Linked DNA regions of Homo sapiens: regions 2, 3, 4 and 5 are each linked to region 1. Evidence: promoter capture Hi-C in human tissues and cell types (Jung and others, 2019). All regions are on one chromosome and are shown on one strand. The core of a region is centred on a gene start or on the middle of the fragment in contact, and the rest is flanking DNA. Distances in the headings are between cores, read along the strand shown. Region 1 holds the start of SIGLEC1 (sialic acid binding Ig like lectin 1). Region 2 overlaps DNAAF9 (dynein axonemal assembly factor 9). Region 3 overlaps DNAAF9 (dynein axonemal assembly factor 9). Region 4 has its middle 18 kb from the start of LINC01433. Region 5 has its middle 5.6 kb from the start of RNF24.

The links. Contacts are between HindIII fragments. The study calls those that stand out against the background at their distance.
Region 2: a contact is called between a fragment that was not itself captured here and the fragment with the promoter of SIGLEC1 in region 1, in 1 of the 25 tissues and cell types used here (dorsolateral prefrontal cortex).
Region 3: a contact is called between a fragment that was not itself captured here and the fragment with the promoter of SIGLEC1 in region 1, in 1 of the 25 tissues and cell types used here (hippocampus).
Region 4: a fragment that was not itself captured here is called in contact with the fragment with the promoter of SIGLEC1 in region 1 in 1 of the 25 tissues and cell types used here (spleen).
Region 5: a fragment that was not itself captured here is called in contact with the fragment with the promoter of SIGLEC1 in region 1 in 1 of the 25 tissues and cell types used here (thymus).

What each region holds. Positions count from the first base shown.
Region 1 is chr20:3,711,349-3,714,048 of GRCh38, forward strand. SIGLEC1 (sialic acid binding Ig like lectin 1) reads right to left here and starts at 1,252. Exons shown (of 22, transcript NM_023068.4): 1 at 1,122-1,252. The HindIII fragment of the contact is 16,568 bases long and covers 1-2,700 here.
Region 2 is chr20:3,323,648-3,326,347 of GRCh38, forward strand. It overlaps DNAAF9 (dynein axonemal assembly factor 9), which reads right to left. Exons shown (of 37, transcript NM_001009984.3): 13 at 2,550-2,637; 14 at 1,245-1,321. Among named protein-coding and RNA genes, the nearest start is that of DNAAF9, 83 kb to the right of the region's middle. The HindIII fragment of the contact is 9,834 bases long and covers 1-2,700 here.
Region 3 is chr20:3,307,509-3,310,208 of GRCh38, forward strand. The region is part of intron 20 of DNAAF9 (dynein axonemal assembly factor 9); the gene reads right to left. Among named protein-coding and RNA genes, the nearest start is that of SLC4A11, 70 kb to the left of the region's middle. The HindIII fragment of the contact is 8,715 bases long and covers 1-2,700 here.
Region 4 is chr20:4,210,121-4,212,820 of GRCh38, forward strand. No RefSeq gene overlaps it. Among named protein-coding and RNA genes, the nearest start is that of LINC01433, 18 kb to the left of the region's middle. The HindIII fragment of the contact is 8,948 bases long and covers 1-2,700 here.
Region 5 is chr20:4,019,825-4,022,524 of GRCh38, forward strand. No RefSeq gene overlaps it. Among named protein-coding and RNA genes, the nearest start is that of RNF24, 5.6 kb to the left of the region's middle. The HindIII fragment of the contact is 4,326 bases long and covers 1-2,700 here.

The DNA.
Region 1 (2,700 bases), core at 2-2,501:
CTGTTTGAGACCAAGTGCCTCAGGAGGTCTTGGAGGGTTGGCTGGGGCCCCAAGTCCCTGACCTCTGATTCCAGAGGCCAAGTTTAGCTGGGGAAGAAAGGGCAGAGGCAGTTTCCCTATGGACAGCTAGGCCCGGGTGTAGGATTCAGTTTCTGTTTCCTGACACCAAGGCTTCTCCCCAACTTCCCCATTGGGCTAGAGAAGGAAGAACACAGGGTGACATGGCCAGCTGGAGGTTACTGGCCCACAGATAGGGAGTCAGGGTACGGATGGGCAATTCCTGGAGCAGATTATGGTCAAAATAGTGGAAATCCCCAATCACAGGCCAAATGTTTAATTCTCAGAGCCATAGAATCCATAACTAATGCTTATTGGCTTTGACATGGGCAGTAGAAATTTCACACTTCATTCCTTAATCTGGCTCTAAATGCTTCTGGCTGGAGTGCTCACTCTCCAAACTGTGCTGGACAGCACCAGAAGCCCTCCTGTGGACGGACGAAGTGGTGATGGATGAAGTGGAATTGTGCTGGGGTTAGAGTAAGGAGAGATTATCGTTGGGCTGGGCTGGGGCTGAGGTCAGGGTGATGATCAGGTTGGAATTCTGGAAGCAAATTAAGGCTGGGATTGGGGTGGACATTGAGGTTGAGTGATGGGTGGGGGTAAGGGTGAAGGTTGGAGTTGGGTGCAGGTGATGGTTAAGATACGGTGGAGGCTGGGTTGAGATGAGGATGATAGAGTCGGAGTTGTGGTTAGGGTTGGGATGATGGATGGTTGGGATTAGATGAGATGAGTAAATGGTTAGGGTTGGGGTGCAAGTGAGGTGAGGGTGAGATAAGGTTGGAATAGGGGCTGGGGCTGGGGCTGAGGTAGGGTCAGAGCAGGGTGATGGTCGGGACTGGGATTGGGATGCAGGTTGGAAGGATTTGGGGGTGGTGGAAGGGTTTCAGTTGAGTCCATCTTTGATTAGTGTCTTGGACTTGGGTTGGTTTGGGGTCCACCACTCGCACCCAGATGGAGCCCCCCCCCGACCCCTGCCCCTATCCCGCTCAGCCAGTTTCAGCCCAGCCCCGCTCCTAATGCTCCACTCACCCTCTGGGCCCAGGGACCAGGGACAGGGGTACCTGCTCCACAGAAGGAAGTGGCTGCGGCGGTGCTGGACCTGCGGAGAGGAGAACAGGAAGGACGGCCAAGAGCTCCTGGTGCAGCTGGCTCCCCAGGGCTCTGCCGGCTCAAGAGAGAAGGATCCCGTATCAGGGGCTGCTTCCTCTTTCCCAAAGCCTCAGCTCTACTGTCCAACCCAGAGGCTGGTCAGGGAGGCAGCTGCAGGCCTTGCGCAATGCCAAAACGGGAAAGACCTCCATAGGGGAAGGCCCTCGGCAAGGCCAGGGACTTAGGGACTCCAGCAAGCAGAAGTGGGACCGCTGCAACGCTGGAGCCTCCCCAGGCAAAGTGAGAAATGGAGTGGGGGACTCCCATTCACCAGCCAAATCCACACCCCACTCTCTCTGAGCCCCTTAGGGAGGCTGGGGGAGGTGGAAGGGGGCTTCCTGCACACAGCTCTCCTCCCTGACACCTGAGAGGGAGGCGCGCCCAGCCTGGGGTGGGGATGCACTACACGATGCCCAGACCAAGGCAGTTATTCTCCAAGCCATTCAGGAGCCTCCCTGTACCACTGAGTACTCTTAAGAACCCCCAAGAGGCAGTCCCGTGTTGTGGGGGACATAAGGCCCCAATGTCCAGGACACTCCTCAGGTTTTCTCTTTCCCCTCTCACTGTCCTGTACGTTTTTTGGTTTTTGGCTTCTTGTTGTTGGTTTTTTTCTTTTTGTTTTGTTTTTGCTTTTGAGATGGAGTCTCACTCTGTCGTCCAGGCTGGAGTGCGGTGGCACAATCTCAGCTCACGGCAACCTCCACCTCCCGAGTTCAAGTGATCATCTTGCCTCAGCCTCTCGAGTAGCTGGGATTACAGGCATGCACCACCACATCCGGCTAATTTTTGTATTTTTGGTAGAGACGGGGTTTCACCATGTTGTCCAGGTTGGTCTTGAACTCCTGACCCCAAGTAATCTGCCTGCCTCGGCCTCCCAAAGTTCTGGGATTACAGAGGTGAGCCGCTGCACCCGGCCACTATCCTATACCTTCACCCCCACCTTGGGACAGGAAAGGAAAGCCCCCACCACAGCTAGTTACTGTTACATTACTGCAGCCCATCTTATTGAGGGCCTAGTTTGTGCAGGCACTTGACATGTGAAGCAGATGTTAATTGCTCCAAGCAATCCCAGATACAAGCAACAAGACTTTTTTTGGTTTTTGTTTGTTTGTTTGTTTTTGTTTTTTGAGACAGTGTCTTGCTCTGTCGCCCAGGCTGGGGTGTCCTGGTGCAATCTTGGCTCACTTTGGCTCACTGCAGCTTCGAAATTCTAGGCTTAAGCAATCCTCCTGCTTCAGCCTCCTAAGAAGCCGGGATTACAGGCGCTTGCCACTATGCACGGCTAATTTTTTAAGTTATTTTGTAGAGACGGAGTCTCCCTATGTTCCCAGGCTGGTCTCAAACACCTGGGCTCAAGTGACTCTCCCACCTCGACCTCCCAAAGTGCTGGAACTACAGGCGTAAGCCACCACTCCTGGCCATTTTTTTTTTTAATTTCACAACTCAAACTTAATTCAACTCAGTCCCTGCCTACCTGTACTGGTGGGGAGC
Region 2 (2,700 bases), core at 102-2,601, 390 kb before region 1:
TTTCTCCCATTGACTGGTGTTTTCTTCTTGTGCCTTTCTCCAGCTAGGGCAGACACCTAGGCCTAGGAGGCCTTGGGACTGAGAGGGGGCCTGCTCTGGGGAGGCTGAGTGGCCTAGGCAAGGGCCCAAGTAAAGGAGAAGTAGAATGACTATGCCAGCCATATTGATGGTAAGAGAATACCCCACTGTGACAGCAGCTAACATCTATGTGCCCAACTGCTTTACAAGGTGGGTAGCTGAAGGAGCAGATACAGACAGTTCCTATCTTGCCCAAGGTCACACAGATGCAAACTGAAGAAGCGTTCTCAAATTCAGGTTGGCCAGAAACAGATAGCACAGGGCAGCACAAGGTCTTAAGGGAACAAACTTCCTTTATCCTTTCCCTTTCATGGCCAGGGCAGCAAGATCCAGAAGACCCAGGGGAAAGAAGACCTGAAGCAAGTCTAAAGCCCTGCACCACAGAGTTCTGGCTCTTTCTTCCACTCCTGGGGCTGCAGAAATAGAATTCTTTTTGTTAGACCAATTAATTGACTAATCTTTCAAATACTCTCTCTTATTACACAGGACTATAGATTTAAGAAAATGTGGGACATAGACCTGAGGCATCACAGGACACATCCTAGAAGTATTCTTAAATAAATTCCCCAGTATTGGTGTCTTTTGTATCCTTTGTATAAAAGTGCACATAATGGTCCTCACGTGAAACAGTGGTTAAGTGGACTGGGTTCATGAAGATTTAGCTATGGATAACAACCACCGTGACATGCTGGGAGATGTGATGGAAAAATCACCAGATTCTCAGATGATGCAGACCCCAGGACACGGCCAGGCTCAGGGTTTCTGTCATTCAAGAGACAGATGAGGCCCAGTGCAAGTTTCTTCTAAGCAGTGACTATCTTCCTGTGCCCAGGGCCCTCTGCCCCTAGAAACCTCACCATTCAGGTACCCAGCTTTGCCTTTCTAGCCTTGGAACCCAGGCTTGTCAAATCTCCTGTGATGCTGGTGTTAATCTGCCCTGCATTCTAACCTCAGAACATGTGTGTGACTTTCTCAAACAGTTCCTGCATCTTTGGCTCTTTGGCTTCTAAGTGAAGGCTGAATCATGAATGATTCTCCTTCACACATCCCATTATTTTACTGAAACATTTCTCAAAGGGGAGATGAAATCTAAATTATAAGGGAAAAAAGAATATTCCAAAACGAAGAAAAAAAATTCCTTATAAAAAATATCAGCCATTGCTTACCGCAGGGCTGCCTTAAACGGAATCAACTCAAAGGAATCTAACCCAGATCCCAGAGTTTGCTCTGCTACCTCCTTGGCCTGTAAAATAATAAGACAGCGACAATTAGCTTTCACAGCAGGAAAAAGTACACATATCACTGATGGAAGGGCCCTCCTAACACTTGTCCAGGATCACACCATGCCCTACAGTGTGTCCTTCCCATCTATGTGACTACTTGGTAGGCATGAATAGATTAAAGTGAAAGTATCATGTTAAGGGAAAGAAGGGCCTGCTTTCTCCAGGCTAGGTTTACAGGACAAAACTGCATTCAGGCAGGTGTGCACTGGAACCTGACGTGCTGGATCCAGAGAAGTGACCAGCTGTGATGACAGCAGTGGAATGTGAGGTCTGTAAAAGTGCTTTCTCCTCCCCTCTTCCTTGGCTCTTGGGAAGGAACCTCTGCCCTCAGAGTTTTAGCCAGATGCTAAGAATATCCAAATAGCAAGAGTTACAAAAGATCAGTTAAAAAACAAAGATGTGAGAACTGATATTGAAGGACACCCCACTGCTTTGGATAAGCCTTCTGCATGTAGTGGCTAAAGGGCTGAGAAATCCGGAGTCAGTACCAGGGATACAAGTTCAGTGAGGAGGGGAGATGGCAAGGAGCTGGTGACTACAGCTACAGTCTCTCTGATATCTACATCATACACAACCTTTCCAATGTCAAATGGCTTCCTTCAGAAAAGGTCCTATTGGCATTTGGGAGGCATCAAGCTGACTCTTCTCATCTCCTTACTGGGTCAGATATAGGAATCCAACTCAGCAGGGCAGGTTAACCGCAAAACAGCAAGGAAGATAATGGTCAGAGAACGGGAACACATGTGCTTGTCTAGGAAAAGCAAGTCAGATTTTCTAATCTTTAGCTATTTTTTTTAAACACTGAGTTATAGGAAATCAAACTTACCAAACTTTATTAGATTTCACAGTAGAATAATCTAAAGTTGTCTTTTTGGTTTTTTTTTTTTAGCTTTTAAAAGACTTTTGTTTAAGCTATTCAACAAAACAATGTGCTACAGAATGATTTTTCCTTAACACAACCAGATGTCTACAAAGAAGCACCGATTAGTTGTCATCCATAAGACAACAGCAGCACAGTCACAGGCAGCAGAAGCTCAGTGCTCTCAGGGCTTCTCTCTGCCTGGTGTCAAAGAGGCCCAAGCTCGCACAAAAGTGAGTACTACAAGATGTCCAAAGAAGAAACACATGGATAGAATGTTTTACATTAAAATAATAATTACAGAAAGGGAAACATGGTATTTAAATTACCTTTGTTAGACTGGAAGTTTTAGCATAACATGCAATGCCAGCCAAAACAGCCTCAATAACAGCAGCATATATCTGGGACAATAGCCTACTTTAAAAACAAAAAATAATGGTTAACATTACAGCATCATGAGGTTTTTGTCAAAAGATGCAT
Region 3 (2,700 bases), core at 74-2,573, 400 kb before region 1:
TGAGGGCCATACCTTTGCAGGGGTTCACAGGGGCCAGGGCAGCCAACTCCTGAGGAGATCTCCCTGACTCTTTGTGCCATCCTTGGTGTCCTTAGTGGATGAACTCTGTCCTTCCTTCTCCATTCTGTAAGTCTGAAAACCCAGGATAAGAGGAAGTTTCCCATTATTGTCCCAAAACCAGGAGGACTGCAGTTTGGTTGTCTTTGATTGAGCTCTGTATCCCTGGAAGTCCAACAAAAGAGGGATGGGCCCTCAGGGTAAACCAAAATACCAAGCAAATGCCAAAGAAGAATTTCGCTTTCCTCTTTCAGAAAACTGGCTGTACAAATAAAAATCTTCCAACAGCCCAGTCTATGTGAGGAGGGAACATTTATCACTGCTGGGGAAATTTATGATGCAATGGCTAGATGATTTTCATCCTGTGTCTATAAATGTGTGTGAAATGTACACACAAGGTTTAAAAAAAAAAAAAAAAAAAAACTAAAGCAACAACTACAAAACCCAGATGTCTATGAACTCACCACTGGGCCTAAGAAATTGAGCATTACTAGCACCGTTGAAACCCCCTGGATGTCCTTCCTCAATGAGAGCCCTTCTCTTCCACCCAGGGGGAACAGCATCCTGAATTCTGGATGGTTTTACCACACTTGAATGTATTTGTAAACTGTGTATTACTTAGTTTTGTCTGTGTTTTTATATAAATGAAATCCTAATCATGTATTCTTCTGTGACTTGCTTACTTCTCCTGACATTCTGTTCCTGAATGTGACCTATGTTACAAGTAATATGCAGCTATACAGTTCCTTCATGCTCAGTGCTGTACAAAACTTTACTTTTTTTTTTTTTTTTTTTGAGATGGAGTCTCACTCTGTTGCCTTGGCTGGAGTGCAGTGGTGCCATCTCTGCTCACTGCAATCTCCGCCTCCCAGGTTCAAGTGATTCTTGTGCCTCAGCCTCCCAAGTAGCTGGGATTACAGGCATGCGCCACCACGGTCCAGCTAATTTTTGTATTTTTAGTAGAGATGGGGTTTCACCACGCTGGCCAGGCTAGTCTCGAACTCCTGACCTCAGGTGACCTGCCCGCCTCGGCCTTCCAAAGTGCTGGGATTACAGGTGTGAGCCACCGTGCCAGACCAAAACCTTCATTTTTAAAGTGTCCCTCCAGCCAGGTGCGGTGGCTCCCTCCAGCCAGGTACAGTGGCTCACGCCTGTAATCCCAGCACTTTGGGAGACTGAGGTGGGAGCTTCACGTGAGGCCTGGAGTTTGAGACCAGCCTAGCCAACATGGTGAAACTCCATCTCTACTAAAAAAAAAAAAAAATTAGCCAGGTGTGGTGCCACATGCCCACATGACTCCTCCTCCATGCATACATGGTAGGGGCTAAGCTCTCTGGTAGCTCTTATAAGGGCACCACATCCCAACAGACCTTGTCCCACATTCATGACCTCATCTAACCCCTATTTCCTTCCAAAAGCCCCATCTCCAGATAACATCACTTTTGGGGTTAAGGCTTCAACACTGGAATTTTGGAGAGGACACAAACATTCAGTCTCTAATGTGATAAGGCAAGTTCCCACCTTGTTTTTCTTCTTCAGGAGTATCTTGGCTGTTCTTAGCACTTTGCTCAAAGTTATTGACATTTTTATGTTGGCTTTTCAGGATTTTCAAAAAACTTGTTGGTTTTTTTTTTCCTGAAATTATGTTAAATTTAAAGATCACTTTGGAGAGAATTGTCATTTTTACCATGTCAAGTAAGTAAACCTGAGTTTTCCAGTCCATGAATGGGATGTGTGTTTATGTCATTTTTAATGCCTTTTAGTATAGTGTTATAATTTTCTCAGCCTCCAGACTGTGAGAAATAAATTCCTACTGTTAATCCACTCACTCTGTGGTATTTTGTTATGGCATCCCAAGCAGACTAAGTCACCATATAGAAATATGTTATCTATCTAAAATAAGACAATGTGTTATTTTCTTTCCCAATGGAACAGAACAGAGAGCCTATTAATAGATGCACACATAAAGAGACTTGATTTATAACAAAGCTGGCACTGCCGATCAGTGGGAAAACAATGATTTTTCAATAACTTTGCTGAGACAGGTGGCTACCTACATTTAAAAAATGAACTTAGACTTCTATCTCATATCACTTTCACAGAGCAATCCAGGTGGATTCTTTGAAAAATTATATTTTTATAATTCAACAGAAAAGTCTCAATAGATCTAAAATATATGAATCACATAGGAAATGATTAATTATCCTGATTACATTAAAACTAAGAACTTTTATTCATGAAAAAGCATCAGAAATAAAATAAAAAGACAAGCCACCAGGTGAAAGAAAATATTTGCAATATACTGAATTGACAAAGAATTAGTATCCAAAATCTATAAAGAATTCCTGGCTGGGCGCAGTGGCTCACGTGTAATCCCAGAACTTTGGGAGGCTGTGGCAGGCAGATCACCTGAAGTCGGGAGATTGAGACCAGCCTGACCGACATAGAGAAACCCTACCTCTACTAAAAACACAAAATTAGCCGGGCATGGTGGTGCATGTCTGTAATCCCAGCTACTCGGGAGGCTGAGGCAGGGGAATCGCTTAAACCTGGGAGGCAGAGGTTGCAGTGAGCCAAGATCGTGCCATTGCACTCTAGCCCAGGCAACAAGAGTGAAACTCCATCAAGAAAGAAAAGAAAGAT
Region 4 (2,700 bases), core at 59-2,558, 500 kb after region 1:
ACCGTCACTACTAGAAATACGACAAAATAGCTGGGTGTGGTGGCGTGCACCTGTAGTCCCAGCTACTTGGGAGACTGAGGCAGGAGAATCGCTTGAACCCAGGAGGCGGAGGTTGCAGTGAGCCGAGATCGTGCCTCTGCACTCCAGCCTGGGTGACAGAACGAGACTCCATGTCAAAAAAAAAAAAAAAAAAGAGATTCAGAGACTCAGAAATGTGATGTCCAGACTGCCTGCCAGAAGTGTATCCACCCTCAGAATATGAATCCTGCCCTCCCAGTTATACCTTGCTTATCTACATGGGGAAGTTATCCCAGATATTATATCAACTGTCCCTGCCTGTGGTCCACCTTAATTTAGGAACCCTTGCTGGCTGAAAGGAGGCCAACACTCATCAGTTGTAGAGTCCAGGTCCCTTAGGATATTCCTGGGCTGGTCATGAGTTGCACCCTGGGGTCTCCTGGTTGGTGGCTAGAGAAGGGTAGAAGGAAATTTTGCCAGAAGAGCCAGTCCTCTTGTGATGCACTGGAAAATTTTTGGCAAATATTCAGTCACTTTCCTCTCCTTGGAGCAGAGTATATTTCCCTGCCCCATTGGCTTTGGGCTTGGCCATATGACTTGCTTTGGCCAGTGAAATGTGGATAGATGATGTGTTAGGAACAGAAGCTCTAAAGCTTCACGTATTTGTCATTAATCATGGGAAGAATATGCCCCAGACAGCGGATGGTTCAAGGAGAATACAGAGAAAAGGGGAATGGATTTGAGCCATAAAAGCCTAGAACCAACACTAGAATCTGCAGACAGAGACCTAAGCAAGAAAAATAAATGCTTGCTATTGTAACCTGTGAATTAAGGGGTGGCTTGTTTTGTAGCATTACTGTGGCTATAGCTGACTAATACACCTTTCTTTAGGGGAGTCATCCAGGCCAAGAGGGAGCTTTCTGGGCACTGGTGATGATATGTGCCGTGGATCCACAGAATGGGAAGCTACCCTTACTGCGACTCAGGTCCAGCAAAGGGGCCTGGCAGGAATAGGTCAAGGGCTTCAGGGCCCTGGGGAGGATGCATTTCATGGCTTGATTCCAGCCCAAGGGGCTGTAGGGAATAGAAGCCAGTGGGCATTCTTTTAGTTCTAATCTATGAGATTGAGGAAAGATCTTCTGTTCCCACTGCCCAATTCTTGGCTGATGAGGAAGAATTTTATTCTAAATATTCAGAGCTAGCTGGGAGCGGTAGCACGCACCTGTAGTCCCAGCTACTCAGGAGGCTGAAGCAAGAGGATGGCTTGAACCCAGGAGTCCAGCCTGGCAACATAGTGAGACACTGTCTCTAAAAAAATAGATACATAAAAAAATTAAAAATAATTCAGAGCTGCTGGCTACTTCTCTTCCATCAGATGAAGACCTGAAAAACTGTGGTGTCTTACCCTGCTCTCAAGATCCCTTCTGATTCCCAACCCACAAACTGGTACAGTCCAGTGGGCATGAAGTGTTCACTGGATGTAGAAAGTTCCTGAAAGGGGCTGGGTTTGGTGGCTCACACCTGCTATCCCAGCACCTTGGGAGGCTGAGATGAGAGGATCACTTGAGGCCAGGAGTTCAAGACCAGCCTGGGAAACATAGTGAGGCCCTGTCTCTACAAAAATTTAAAAATGAGCAGGGCATGGTGGCATGCACCTGTAGTCCCAGCTACTGGGGAGCCTGAGGTGAGAGAATCGCTTGAGCCCAGGAGTTCAAGGCTGCTGTGAGCTATGATCACACCACTGCACTCTAGCTTGGGCAACAGAGCAAGACCCTATCTCCCACAAACAAATAAACAACAAAAAAGAAAGTTCCTGAAGGGGATCAGGAGAATGGAGGATCACGACTGTGTCCTCAGCTACTCAGAAAGCAATGTGTGGGCAGCAGGACAGTGGCTGGAGGTTTGATGATTGGATGGACTCTTCTTGGAGTTAAGGGTGGGGTATATGCATTGGAGAGGGCTGAGCCTTTTCCTTCCCCACCTCTGGCCAGGGGTGCCTTTGATGCACAGGGTAACACTCTGGCAAGAGCTCTGAGTCTTTTAATTCAGCTTTGTTAACTCTGGAGTCCCAACTGTTTGCAGATGGCTGGCTGATATCCTCATTTTTAAAGACCTGCTTTGAATTTTTATCCTCTTTTCAGCTCTTCATTGGTATTTTAAGGGGAGAGGTCTTATAAAGGACTTCAATACCAAGTTGAGTTGGTCGTGTCTGTGTTTGATTAAAAAAAAATTGGCTGGGTGCAGTGCCTCACGCCTGTAATCCCAGTACTTTGGGAGGCCTAGGCAGGTGGATCACCTGAGTTTGGGAGTTTGAGACCAGCCTGACCAACATGTAGAAACCCCGTTTCTACTAAAAATACAAAAAAATTAGCTGAGCGTGGTGGCAGGCACTTGTAATCCCAGCTACCTGGGAGCCTGAGGCAGGGGAATCGCTTGAACCCAGGAGGCGGAGGTTGTGGCGAGATCATGCCATTGCACTCCAGCCTGGGTAACAAGAGCGAAACTCCGTCTCAGAAAAAAAAAAAAAAAAAAAAGAAATGTCCTGAGGGCTCCTAATAAGGCAGGCAGTTCTAGAGGGTAGCTTGGGAAGGGGATGCTAAGTATGGGTTGAGTGCGTGGGAATGCTAGCGTAGCTCCAAAATCTTCATCTCCAGAATCTCTCCACCTGTTCTCTTCACTCCC
Region 5 (2,700 bases), core at 191-2,690, 310 kb after region 1:
GGTTGATCATATAATGCTTTGACCCGTTGGACTGTGCCAGTAGAGGAGGAGATGTTCTGTGTTCCCCGAGCCTCTTCATCCAAGAATTCCAAAGTGACTCCTCCTGCCTTGATCCCTCCCAATGGCCCTCTCCTCCTCATAGCCCATGGGGACCTCTTGCTGGGGCGTGACGCTGCCCACGGAGGGGTGGAATTGCTTCTTCTTTTTTTTTTTTTAGATGAAGTCTCTCTGTCGCCCAGGCTAGAGTGCAGTGGTGCAATCTTGGCTCACTGTAACCTCCGCCTCCTGGGTTCAAGTGATTCTCCTGCCTCAGCCTCCCGAGTAGTTGGGATTACAGGCACCTGCCACTGCGCCCAGCTAATTTTTGTATTTTTAGAAGAGACAGGGTTTCACCATCTTGGCCAGGCTGGTCTCGAACTCCTGACCTCAAGATCCACCCGCCTCGGCCTCCCAAAGTGCTGGAATTACAGGCATGAGCCACCGGAATTGCTTCTTAATGCAGAATGTGTGTGCAAGACTGTGAAACAGCAAGAGTTGGGGAGAAAGCGTAGGTTTCTGTGTGCATGGTACCTTTAGGACTGGCTGTGTGTCCACCCACAAGCCAGCGAAGGAGGTGGGAACCTGGGATTCTGTTTACCCAGCCACCAACAAGCCCCGTTGCCTTTCTGGCACACACAAGCCCAATCACCCAGAACTCCTGAAAATATAAATGTTCTCAAGATCTCATGTGGGAGCTTTTTAGCTGAGACCAGCCACACATGCAGGAGACTGGAAGCACTATTTCCCAGGGGTGGAACAACCTGCTCAGACTCACTTTTAGATTGGAGGATACCCATCTCAGCGTGGATTCTCCCAAGAACAGATCTTAAGACAAGGGCTTGGATGTAGGTAATTTACTTGGGAGGTGATTCCAGGAAATAAGAGTGAAGAAATGGGGAAAGCAAGCTGTGAAAGGGAGAGAAGCCAACAGTAAGGTATGCTGATGGGCCAGTTACTGCCATGGGCAACTGAGGCTCAGTCTGGCTTGGCGTCCACTGAGAAACCTTGTAGAACAGCCCTCAGCATTGTCTGCCTGGATGACCAGGAGGCCAGAGTATTTCTCCACTGACTTCAGTGTCTTGGTTGCTTTTCTTTTCTTTTTTTTTTTGAGACGGAGTTTCGCTCTTGTTGCCCAGGCAGGAGTGCAGTGGCATGATCTCAGCTCACTGCAACCTCCGCCTCCCGGGTTCAAGAGATTCTCCTGCCTCAGCCTCTCAGGTAGCTGGGATTACAGGCATGCGCCACCATGCCTGGCTAATTTTGTATTTTTTTAGTAGAGACGGGGTTTCTCCATGTTGGTCAGGCTGGTCTTGAACTCCCGACCTCACGTGATCCACCTGCCTTGGCCTCCCAAAGTGCTGGGATTACAGGCATGAGCCACCGCGCCTGGCCCTCTTTTCTTTTCTTTTCTTTTTTTGAGACAGAGTCTCACTCTTGTCACCCAGGCTGGAGTGCAGTGGCGCCATCTAGACTCATTGCAACCTCTGCCTCCTGGTTGTTCAAGTGATTCTTGTGCCTCAGCCTCCTGAATAGTTGGGATTACAGGCGTGTGCCACCATGCCCAGCTAAATTTTGTATTCTTAGTAGAGACAGGGTTTTGCCATGTTGGCCAGGCTGGTCTCAAAATCCTGGCCTTGAGTGATCTGCCCAGCTCAGCCTCCCAGAGGGTACTTTCAAGTTACATCTATGGAACAAAGCAAGCCGCTCTGCTAAGCTCCTCCAGTTATTGATTACACAACCCCCACAGCTGTGACCACCATTTGGCTACCACCATCATCACAGCTTCTGCCCCTCCAATTTCCCCCAGCCAATTATATCACTGCCTTTTCTCTCTGCTAGGTTCTGTTAGGCCTGAGCTTTAAAGAGAAAGGAATAAAGTGGAATGATATATCTTTGCCCATAACTCATTCTAGGAAAAAGGAACTATGCTGGTTTTCTTTTTCCTCCATTTCAACCTATCCAATCTACCCAAATAGTTCCCAATCATTATCACCTCATCCCAAAGCAACAGACGGGAAAGAGGAACAGGGCAAGAAAGCAGACAGGCTTTCTGGAGTGACTTTTATCCCCACAGAGTCATAGATGCAGAGTTGGAAGAGATGAATTCTCTCATTTGGGAGATAAGGACACCATGCAGATAAAGAGACTCTGTATCTTCTGCTTTTCCTGCTGCTGCAGTGCTTCCTCCAGGCAGGCTTCCTTAGTTTTTCTTGGCTTCCTACCCTTCCAACCTACGCCATCATAATCTGGACTCCAGCCCTTTATTCCCTCAAAGGCTGACTCAGGCCATGACTGAGGGAAGAAGCTTGGATTCTGTAGTGGAACAGCATTGTCCATGGGGAGACACGGCTTCCATCCCAGGCCTTTGGTTCCATTACTTAGTTTCTCACTTGCCTGTCTGTCATCCAAAGGGGCTCACAAGGAGGGGAATGCAGGGAGGAGACATCTCCCTAATACCATTGGAGTTTTTTTCCAGGTTAAGATGGTGCATTGAATCCACCCATCTACTTTTGCTCCTCCCAAAACTCACTAAAACTATTATAAAGGGATTTTGTTTAAAGACACAAACTCATGAGGACAGAGAGAACAGAGTAGACAATAGTGGGGGAAAAATAAGTTGGAAGATAGAAAACAGATGGGTGAGTGGTAATCGACTCAGCA